Linked DNA regions of Homo sapiens: regions 1 and 3 are each linked to region 2. The links are contacts of gene promoters, found by promoter capture Hi-C in blood cells and fetal thymus (Javierre and others, 2016). All regions are on one chromosome and are shown on one strand. The core of a region is centred on a gene start or on the middle of the fragment in contact, and the rest is flanking DNA. Distances in the headings are between cores, read along the strand shown.

The links. Contacts are between HindIII fragments. The CHiCAGO score rates a contact against its expected background, and 5 or more counts as called.
Region 1: a contact is called between a fragment that was not itself captured here and the fragment with the promoter of LYSMD3 in region 2, in 1 of 17 cell types (fetal thymus). The highest score is 5.1, in fetal thymus.
Region 3: a fragment that was not itself captured here is called in contact with the fragment with the promoter of LYSMD3 in region 2 in 1 of 17 cell types (megakaryocytes); the score reaches 7.6 in megakaryocytes.

The regions. Positions count from the first base shown.
Region 1 is chr5:90,268,544-90,271,615 of GRCh38, forward strand. All of the region lies in intron 1 of LINC01339 (long intergenic non-protein coding RNA 1339), which reads right to left. Among named protein-coding and RNA genes, the nearest start is that of LINC01339, 20 kb to the right of the region's middle. The HindIII fragment of the contact is 8,813 bases long and covers 1-3,072 here.
Region 2 is chr5:90,527,530-90,530,863 of GRCh38, forward strand. LYSMD3 (LysM domain containing 3) reads right to left here and starts at 2,055. Exons shown (of 3, transcript NM_198273.2): 1 at 1,919-2,055. RefSeq lists enhancers at 1,326-1,826, 2,452-2,711 and a silencer at 2,092-2,341. The HindIII fragment of the contact is 4,420 bases long and covers 1-3,152 here.
Region 3 is chr5:90,786,832-90,790,061 of GRCh38, forward strand. ADGRV1 (adhesion G protein-coupled receptor V1) reads left to right here. Exons shown (of 90, transcript NM_032119.4): 68 at 1,240-1,479; 69 at 2,871-3,020. Among named protein-coding and RNA genes, the nearest start is that of ADGRV1, 230 kb to the left of the region's middle. The HindIII fragment of the contact is 152 bases long and covers 1,563-1,714 here.

The DNA.
Region 1 (3,072 bases), core at 426-2,925, 260 kb before region 2:
TAAACCAACATTTTGTGTTCACTGTTATTTCTTCTAGGCCCTCCATTAATAGCCTCCTAATCCCAACATCTTTTGCCATTCTAGGCGCTTCCTTTCTCATTTCTTTTTCAGGTTCTGCCTACGAAAACCCTTTAATGGCTTGACATTTCTGAATTATAGCAAAAAAAATGTATTTCGCTCTGTGTAAATTAAACTGAATTATTTAGTGTTTTAATCATAATTTTTAAAAAATTATGAGTGGCAAACAGGGAATTAGTTTGTTCAGAACAAAAGCCTATGATAACATCATTCTTTTTTCAGGACAATAGAATACTATTTATTAAAAACAAACAAAAAAAAAACCCTAAATTCTGTCCTTTAAAAACAGTGTTAAGTGTGATCAAATATTGTGACTCAGAGGTTACCTGACAAAAAAAAACGTAATATTAATGTAAACAGCTAAAAACTAACCTCCTGTGAATACTAAAGCAAATAAATTATAATCTATTATTTCAGGTTTTCTGTTCTACAACTGCATTTTTATTTATACCTTTTCATTTCAAATGTATGTGCATAAAGTATTTTTATCCCTCAGTAAAAATAAAGCTAGATATTTTCTGGTAAACAGGTAAAACAGCAACTCTGTTTTACCTGTTTCTAAAATCTTCTCTCTGATGTTTTCATCACGGGTATCTTACATAGACTCTAGAAATGCAAAGGCAATACAAATGGTACGTAAGAACCTCCATTAATCTTTGTTTCAAGGAGAATGTGAACATTCTCTGTACAATTTAATATTCCGTGTCCACCCACAAAATTCTACAGAGAAGTGTGTGTGTGTGTGTGTGTGTGTGTGTGTGTGTGTGAGAGAGAGAGAGAGAGAGGGAGAGAATCGGTAAGTTTGATTTTAGTAGGAAATTAGTAAAATATGCATATTACAAATAAAGAGAGTACAAGTCCCCATCTGCCATTTATAGTAAGATTTTATATTTCAGAGCTTAATAATGAACCTCCCTGGGGAAAATTTAATAAAGCAGGTTCCCTGGTATTGCCAGCAGTTGGGTTTTTCTGCATCTCTTATTTTCTTACTCCCCAGGGGGAAAAAAATCTCAGTAAGATTTGTGAGCCTGTATCGAAGATAAATCTAGTGTAGTCTGGACTATACACCACCCAAACTGATCCAGATCTCCCACCCAACCCACTGTTCGTTACTGTTTATAAAGTGCAACATGCCCTGTGAAATGATAGGTTGGAGCATTCTCTATCTGTCCTTACCACAAGAAGTACAAAACCAGTTTAGAGTAACTGGAAATTGCAGTTTCAAATTTAAAGAAACACCAGTTATGTATAGGGTGGGTTAGGGATGGGGGTAGTTCTTAACTGTTCTTTTCTCCTACAGAACACTGAGCGTCTAAAACATGTTCAATCCTGTTAATGCTTGTCAAAAATTTCACAGTTCAGCTTTGTTCAGATTTTTTACTGACTATGAAAAATCAATTTGGTGGGATTCAGATTCATAAAGATGGAAGAGCTGCAAGAGACCTTAAATAACCTTGTTCTACCAAGTCTATAGGTAAAAACTGAGTCCCAAGGAAATTAAGGGACTTGCTCAAGGTTTCACATGTCCAGATTGGAACTCAAGTCTGCAGGCGTCCAGTCTATCATCCTTCCCACTGCTCATTTCATCTATTATTATACTTTAGTAATTAAACAATTTAGAGAAGCTATACAATGTGATTTCACAATTAACATAAAGCAGTCATATTATATCCAGGGTTGTGTAGAATTTCATCTGTGCAAAATTTCACTTGGTATTTAGTCATTACACTCAAATAGTATCATTATCTTTCAATTACAGAGATCAATTTTAGTTCATTAGCAAAATAAAATGCTTGCAGAAGGTCCACACAAATTCTTCAAAGCTGCAATCTTCTAAATGTCAGAATTGAAACACATTTTATAAAAAAAAACAAAATGTGACAAAAGTACTTGAGGTTAAACCACAGCTGTGCAAGACTCAGTGCCCTGCGTGATCATAAATCTGCTAAAAAGGCATAATTCAAAGTTCTGTAAAGGAAAATGTGTGCCATTGCCAACTAATAATATTGCCATTTTCCCCATTTCTTGGATTTTGCAGCTTTTCAAGAAAGATTTGGGTCATAGGATATTGTGACACAAATAAAGTATTATGAGTACAGATTCAACCTAAGATGACCTAGAGGCTGCATAAAGGGAAGATTAGATTAATGTTTAAGCCTTGCAAGAGGATTACTATCTATAGGCAAAAACAATGGCCCAAACAATATAGCTATTAGAAATGATGGTAACCTTATCAGGCTTTCTAAACTGAGAGCCTTAATTGCTATCCAGACAAACCCCAGTCAGCTAAACAGAGCTACCAGCAAAGGGGCAATATTATCAAGTTTAAGTTGATGCTAATATCCTTTTGATAAATCTGTGTTGATATAACTTGGGAGAAGTTATTTACAAAATATATATAAAGTTGTTGCTCCTTAATATGTTTAATTATTGTGAGGTTATCATACTAGAGTTTCTAAGATTATATCGATATTTCAGGTTTAACTTGTTAGAATATGTAAACCAAAACTACAGCCTTTGTTTTTCCAACATATTTTTATACTGTTGTACTTTTTTCTAAAGAAGGAAGTGATGATTTGCTCATACTATGATGTGGCCACACTGATATCACAGCTAATGATCCTTGTGGCACAAATTAAGTTTGCAATAAATGAGATTCTTTTTCTACTAATATGATCAGAAATTTAATACCCAAAAAGATGAAAGGTTTTCAATTTTACCTTTGTACATAACCCTTTTCAACATAAGTAAACTCTTCATAAATTTTGTTATGAAATTTAAATAATACATAGTCTTCTTTGTGATTACTTGTTTCATGGAACCCAAACCCTAAAATTCTCAATTACTAGAAATTCAAGAAGTTTATCATGTTAAACAGTTTACTAATACAGTAGAAAGATTAGAAATATCATTTTGTGCCATACCAACCAAGGGTAGTGGTATTCAGCGAGCCTGGATGGTAAGTAAAGCAGGCAAGCAAGTAAATAGAAATTA
Region 2 (3,334 bases), core at 805-3,304:
ATTTTCCACAAGGGTGGCTGAGATAGTGACACTTTTACCTGCTGATGGTTCCAGGTACAAGAACTTTTGTGCACAAATCATATAAAATTACCTTCCGACTATGTGTATAAGTTGAATATGAAACACAAATTTCATGTTCAGACAGGTCCCATCCCCAATGTATCTTATTATGTATATGCAAACATTCCAAAATCCAAAGAAATCTGAAACACTTCCGGTCTCAAGCATTTCAGGTAAGGACTACCCAACCTGTACTTTCTAGGCATATACTTATCATAAAATGCTTTAAAACTATTTAATATAGTTGAATCCAACCCTTGAAAAGCACTTTCTGACCTTGCTCTAATGGCAATATTATAATGCTTTAAAAGCTCAAGAGTTCCTATTCAGATAACACAGATAACTAATAGCTATATGTTAAGTAGATTATTTCAACTGTTCTCTGAAGTGCTACATTATTACCAAGAACTAGGATTCCTAACTTGACAGCTATGAAACTAAAGAAAACTATCACATTTTATATCTCAAAAGCAGTTTTGAAGTCATGACCACATCTTTTCCTCCAAGGATAACAGTTTTATTTCCACTCATTTAACCAGGTCTTTTTTTAATCTTGTGTCTTTAACCTAGGGAATGTCTTTGAATCCTGTAGATTCCAGGCAAATTTTATACATATGTATATTTTTCTGGGGAGAATTTTCATTGCTTCATATTCTCAAAAGGCATCCATGATCAAAAAAGTTAAGACTTAATATACAGCAATTTACACTTGGCTATACCGACCTACTTATGTGTCTTGTTAGACAGTTTCACCCTAATAATTTGTACTTAGAACTTCAAAATTGGCTTAGTAGTGCAGCTAACTGAAAATCACTAAGCAATGCCCCAAAGCCATTTTAGATACTTGTTTCTATCAACCTCTCTCCACGATATATTTCTAAATATAATTTAAAGGTCAGAACTTCACCTGTCTCACTATCTCTCCACTCCCCTTTATAATGAAATGCAGGCAGCTGACTATCGTGTTACAAATCTGGGTATTCTGAATGATCAAGAACTGGCTGTGTCTTCAACCGAAGTGAACAGACTGACCCAGGCGATCACTCCAGTCTACTACTCAGAGATTAGAAAATACATAATATTTAAGTCATCTGGCTCAATTCTATTCACCTCTCTTAATTCTCTTAGAGCAGGAAAAAGGCACGAACTCCCTTTCAGAAACTTGGAACAAGCCTGCGTGCTACCTAGATTACGAGGGGCCACAAAACAGTGTTAAAGCATTCTTCAGCTCAGTCTGTAACTGAAAACGGTTTCCCAAACACCTTCGTACTGTAGAATGGCTGCTGGGTGTTTCGCCTTGACCTTCTTTAACTAAGCAAGGTGCAATAAGAGGGTCACAGGGCACAAGTTAAAGCTGCAAAGGGACAGAATCAAAGGCACCCTATCCGCTGCCAGGGACAATTTTGTTTTTTAAAACTTAACTACCTCCTCCCTCTGTATTCCACACGTCAAGTTTTTCTTTCCCTGCTATCGTCAGCGAAGATTACGTCTCAGAGTCTTCTGTCACAGCATGACACTTGAACGATGTGACAAGATGCCGTCAGCGAATATTTCACGCCAACATAAAGTCGTGGGAGAAATGCTGTGTTTGGGTGGGAAATTAGCTGCCCAGGTAATCCAGCAGGTAGGCGTCCTTCCTCTGAGCCTCAGTTTCCCCGACAGTGTGACAAGAGGGCCTGGCAGGGCTGGTCTGGAAGTTCTTCCCTGTCTCGGGGGTGTCCGCCACACGGGCCGAGCCCGGCCCTGCAGCCCCCACCACACCTGTGGCCGAGGCTCAGCGCCTCCCGTGAGGACGCAGCTGGGGCTCAACCCCGCCCTCCTGGACCGGGCTACCCTCACCTCCTGCCACCATCTTTACCTGTCCCCGTTAGCAGGGAGCACTCTGCGAGAAGATGGCCAAAAGGTCCGCCGCCGCCGCTGTCCCGGGTAAGTTCATGGCCGAGCCTCTGCTTTGGGCTGACCCCGTCCGCCTCCGCCTCTGCCGCCAACGTCTCCGCCTTCCGGGCCGTACGCCGCCGCCACGTCCGCAAACCTGAGATGCGTCATCGCGTCAAGTGGGCGGAGGTGGGAAGGGGCGGGGGAGGACGCGGAGGGCAGCCCAAAACGGGGGAGTCCAACCACAGGTCCACGCCCGGCACGCAGGCGCAGGGACTCCTCCGGGGCCCGGGGGCGGGTCCAATCCCCGGGCCCGGGGGCGGGTCCAATCCCCAGCCCCGCCCTTGACTCCGCTCCTTCCGTGCCGCTTCACTCCCCGAGGAAAAGATTTGGTGGCCAAGTCAGCGGATCCAACCCGCGACCACCAGCGACCTACTGGCTGCGTCTTTGTCCAGCGTCCACACTGCGCTGGCAGAGACTGTCGGGTGCACCCTGAGGACGAGGCGTGGCTCAGGATGTGTCGGGGAGCTGTCTTGCATTTTTTTCTTGCTGTGCATCTCGAATTTTCTTTAGGGTGGGAAAGGACACCTCAAAAACACTGTTGACATCACGGTTTCAGAAAATTGCGCCATGTTTGTTACCCTTTTCATGCTGAAGACTCCAGACTGCTGCAGAAGAGGCAGAATTCTGGAGAGAAATCCTTGGGGGACCGAGGACGAGGGTTGGAGGGGGTTGTCTCACCCTTCCTGTTTTTAGGTGAGGGAAGTGAGCCACCTAGAGTCAGGCCCCAGGAAATGTTTTCCCTGGCTCGAGGAGTCAAGGGAGTCAACAAATTGTAATCTAACTTATTTTGGTTTGAAAATTAACTGAGTCATTGGTAGTCACCATTGGACTCTATGGAATATTAGCTTATTAAATAAACTCATGACTTCATACATGATTTTTATCACAAATGTGTTAAATGAGTATCATAATGTGTTTGAATTTATGTATGACTTTGGCAAAAGCCGCAACTACTTTTGCACCAACCTAATTAATGAATGTAAAGCATTTTAATGAGTCTGATGTCTCTCAGTGTTGATATTAGAGACGTTGCACTTTGACAACCATGCTAACTGTTACGACAATATCCATTTTAGGCACAAATAGCTGGGGTGCAGGGTGCAGAGCAGTGCTTTTCAGAATGTCTGAATATTTATACATTAGAAAGCCTTTGAAGCTTGGTTTTAAATTGTTTTTCAAAGAGTATGTTTTTGGTTTTCTGGTAAGTGCCTCTGCAAAGGTTAGGAGTTTTGCATTGCAATAGTTTTCTTTTATTAGCAGGGATAGGCACTGTGCTTCCCAGCGCCACAAAAAAAAACTGCAGGAGAAGACTTTTTTAAAAAGTTTGTCTGAATTG
Region 3 (3,230 bases), core at 389-2,888, 260 kb after region 2:
TGAGATACTACTGACATCCCAGGGGAGGGTGGTCACATAGGCAGGGCAGCATGCGACTGTGTGTTGTGGGGTGGTCAGGGCTGCAGATGCAGGTCTGGAAGATGTTGACACATGGGGAGGTGTTTGAACACGTGGGGCCTAAGGGGCATATCTGGAAACAGGAAGGATATGGTGCTGAGTCCTGAGCTTCCACCATTTAGAGATCAGAGGAAGGAGAACCAGCAGAGAAGCTTGAGAAGTAAAGGAGGAGGAAAACTAGGAAAGCAGGTGGCACATGAGTATCACATAAGCCAAGACGACAGGACATGGTGTTTCAAGAAGGAAATAGTCAGCTGGAGGGCTGCTGATGAAAGATTAAGAAGCAAAAACAAGTGCCCAATGTTCTTTCTTTGTAGATTGTGTGAGAGGCATACCATTTCAAATCATAGAAATGTAGAAAACTTTGTTTCTTATAACAATGTATGAAGATTTCCGTGTCTTTTACACTAGGAATATAAGTAGATTTAGCATTTTTGCATGGTCTACAGCAGAGTTTTTCCATGGTTTTGTTGTCTTATTTATATAGGTTTTGATTGGCACAGCCTGTGCACACAGCAGGACAGTATTGTACTTATATATTTTTAAAATGTTTATATTTCTCTAATACGTATTTTAATATAGATTTTTATATGTTTTTATCCTATGTGATGACAAATTATTCATGAATACTATAGGTATGTAGTTTATAGTTGCAAATATCTTTTTGTCTTTCTTTCTTTCTTTTTTTTTTTTTTTTTTGAGATGGAGTTTCGCTCTTTGTTGCCTAGGCTGGAGTGCAGTGGCGTGATCTTGGCTCACTGCAACCTCCGCCTCCCAGGTTCAAGCAATTCTCCTGTTTCAGCTCCGAGTAGCTGGAATTACAGGCGCCTGCCACCACGCCCGGCTAATTTTTGTAATTTTAGTAGAGACGGGGTTTCACCATGTTGGCCAGGTTGGTCTCAAACTCCTGATCTCAGGTGATCTGCCCGCCTCGGCCTCCCAAAGTGTTGGGATCACAGGCGTGAGCCACCACACCCAGCTGCAAATATCATTATTTTTAACAAAAAAAAACAAGTTTATGAAACAGGAATTTGATGGAATTATCCTAGAATAATTTTCCTATATGTGTATATATTTTCTTAATACTAGATACCCTGAAATAGTTTTTTGCTTAAAATTGATCTCTATTAAAGAAATACCAAAACCAAAAACATCCCGCAGGTGAACTGGGAGACAGTAGGACCCAACTCTCAAGAAGCCTTACTGCCACAGAATAGAGACATTGCAGACCCAGTGAGCGGGTTGTTCTATTTTGGAGAAGGAGAAGGAGGAGTGAGAACCATAATTCTGACAATCTATCCTCATGAAGAAATTGAAGTTGAAGAGACATTCATTATTAAACTTCATCTTGTGAAAGGAGAAGCTAAATTAGACTCCAGAGCTAAAGATGTTACATTAACCGTATGTATGGCTTTATTTTTCTCACAAAATGTGGATTTCATGGATTTATCAGAAAATACATTTACATTTGTTGAAACTCTATAAGCTTGTGATAAATTGGAAATTATAAAACCAAATAATATCATAATAATTCTGAAGGGTCAAACTTTTTGGTTTTCATGTCAGCTCATTGCATAGCCTGATTATTGGTAATATTTTTTTTAAAAACATTTTAGTATATGATACTTATTTTATAAGCTTGGAGAAAATTTGGTGTTTTTGGAATATTTGACAGTTTTAGAGCAGAGGTATTTGTTATAGCATACCAAACATTGGATATCTTTGTCTTCAGGGAATGTAAAAATTATTAACTAGTTATATTCCAGATAGTTTGAAGGAAAAAATGGTACTTGTTTAGTTAAGGCAAAAAGTGCTGGGACCAAGACTACTGAAAATAATGCAGAGGGATGACCCATTTTTTTGAAGTTTGTAAAATACTCTTATTTGAGATCTATATCAGTCAGAGTTTTCCTGAGAAACAAAACCAGTAGGACAGACATGCACACAGACACAGACACACACACACACACACACACACACACACTCACACACACAGCAGGGTGGAGGGAGAGAGAGAGATTTGAAGGAACAGACTCACATGATTGTGAGGGCTGGCAAGTCCAAAATCCATGAAATAGGCTGGCAGGAAGGAAACTCAGGAAAGAGTTGAAGTTGCAGTTTTGTGGAGCAGAGCAGTTCAGTAAGCTAAAAACTCAAGCAGGATTCCTAAGTTACAGTCTTGAGGCAGAATTCCTTTTTCTCCAGGAAACCTCAGTTTTTGCTCTTAAGGCCTTCAGTTGTTTAGATGAGGCCCATTCACATTCTTGAGGGTGATCTCCTTTACGTACAGTCAGCTGATTGTAAGTATTCATCATATCTCCAAAATACCTTCACAGTGACATCTAGATGAGCGTTTGACCAAACAACTGGGCACTATAGTCTTGGCAAGCTGATACACAAAATTAGTCCTCACAGGGCCTGTTTGCTTCACTCCATGTATATCATAGCTAGTAGGAAGAATTTAGCTAAAATTAACTGATTAAATGTAGTAAATATGAGATGAATAAAGCGAAATTCAGGCATCAAATTACTATTCTCTTGGGATTCTACAAATGGGAGTTTTCTGGATTCTTATTCCCATCATCTTTGGGGAATAAGAACCTACTTGTTTTAGGTAACAGTCAATGTGATAAAGAAGTTTTCAAAAATTAGGTAGCTAAGTAGAGTATATTCAAGTGTCATTTTTATGTTTCTTTCATTTCCTCAGCTTCTCTGTTTGTTAATATGTTGGATACTATAATTTCATCCCTATTGTTTTATAAATTATTTTCTCTGTTGTTTATATTTTTTAGATACAAGAGTTTGGTGACCCAAATGGAGTTGTTCAGTTTGCTCCTGAAACTTTGTCTAAGAAGACTTATTCAGAGCCTCTGGCTCTGGAAGGGCCCCTGCTCATTACCTTCTTTGTCAGAAGAGTCAAGGGCACCTTTGGAGAGATTATGGTATTACTTTTCATTTGATTTTTCAAAGTACCAGTTTGCCTAACAAATGTGGTTAAGAGGGACAGGGAAACTGCATGTTCTAGTTAATTAAAGTTTTTGATAAACTAAAGTTACGTGAGTTTTCAGAGAAACAGAGGCTTTATTTAAACATCTTTGGGCTCTCTCATCAGCATCAACCTCTAGCTATCTCTCTAAATTAAAATTGGTTAC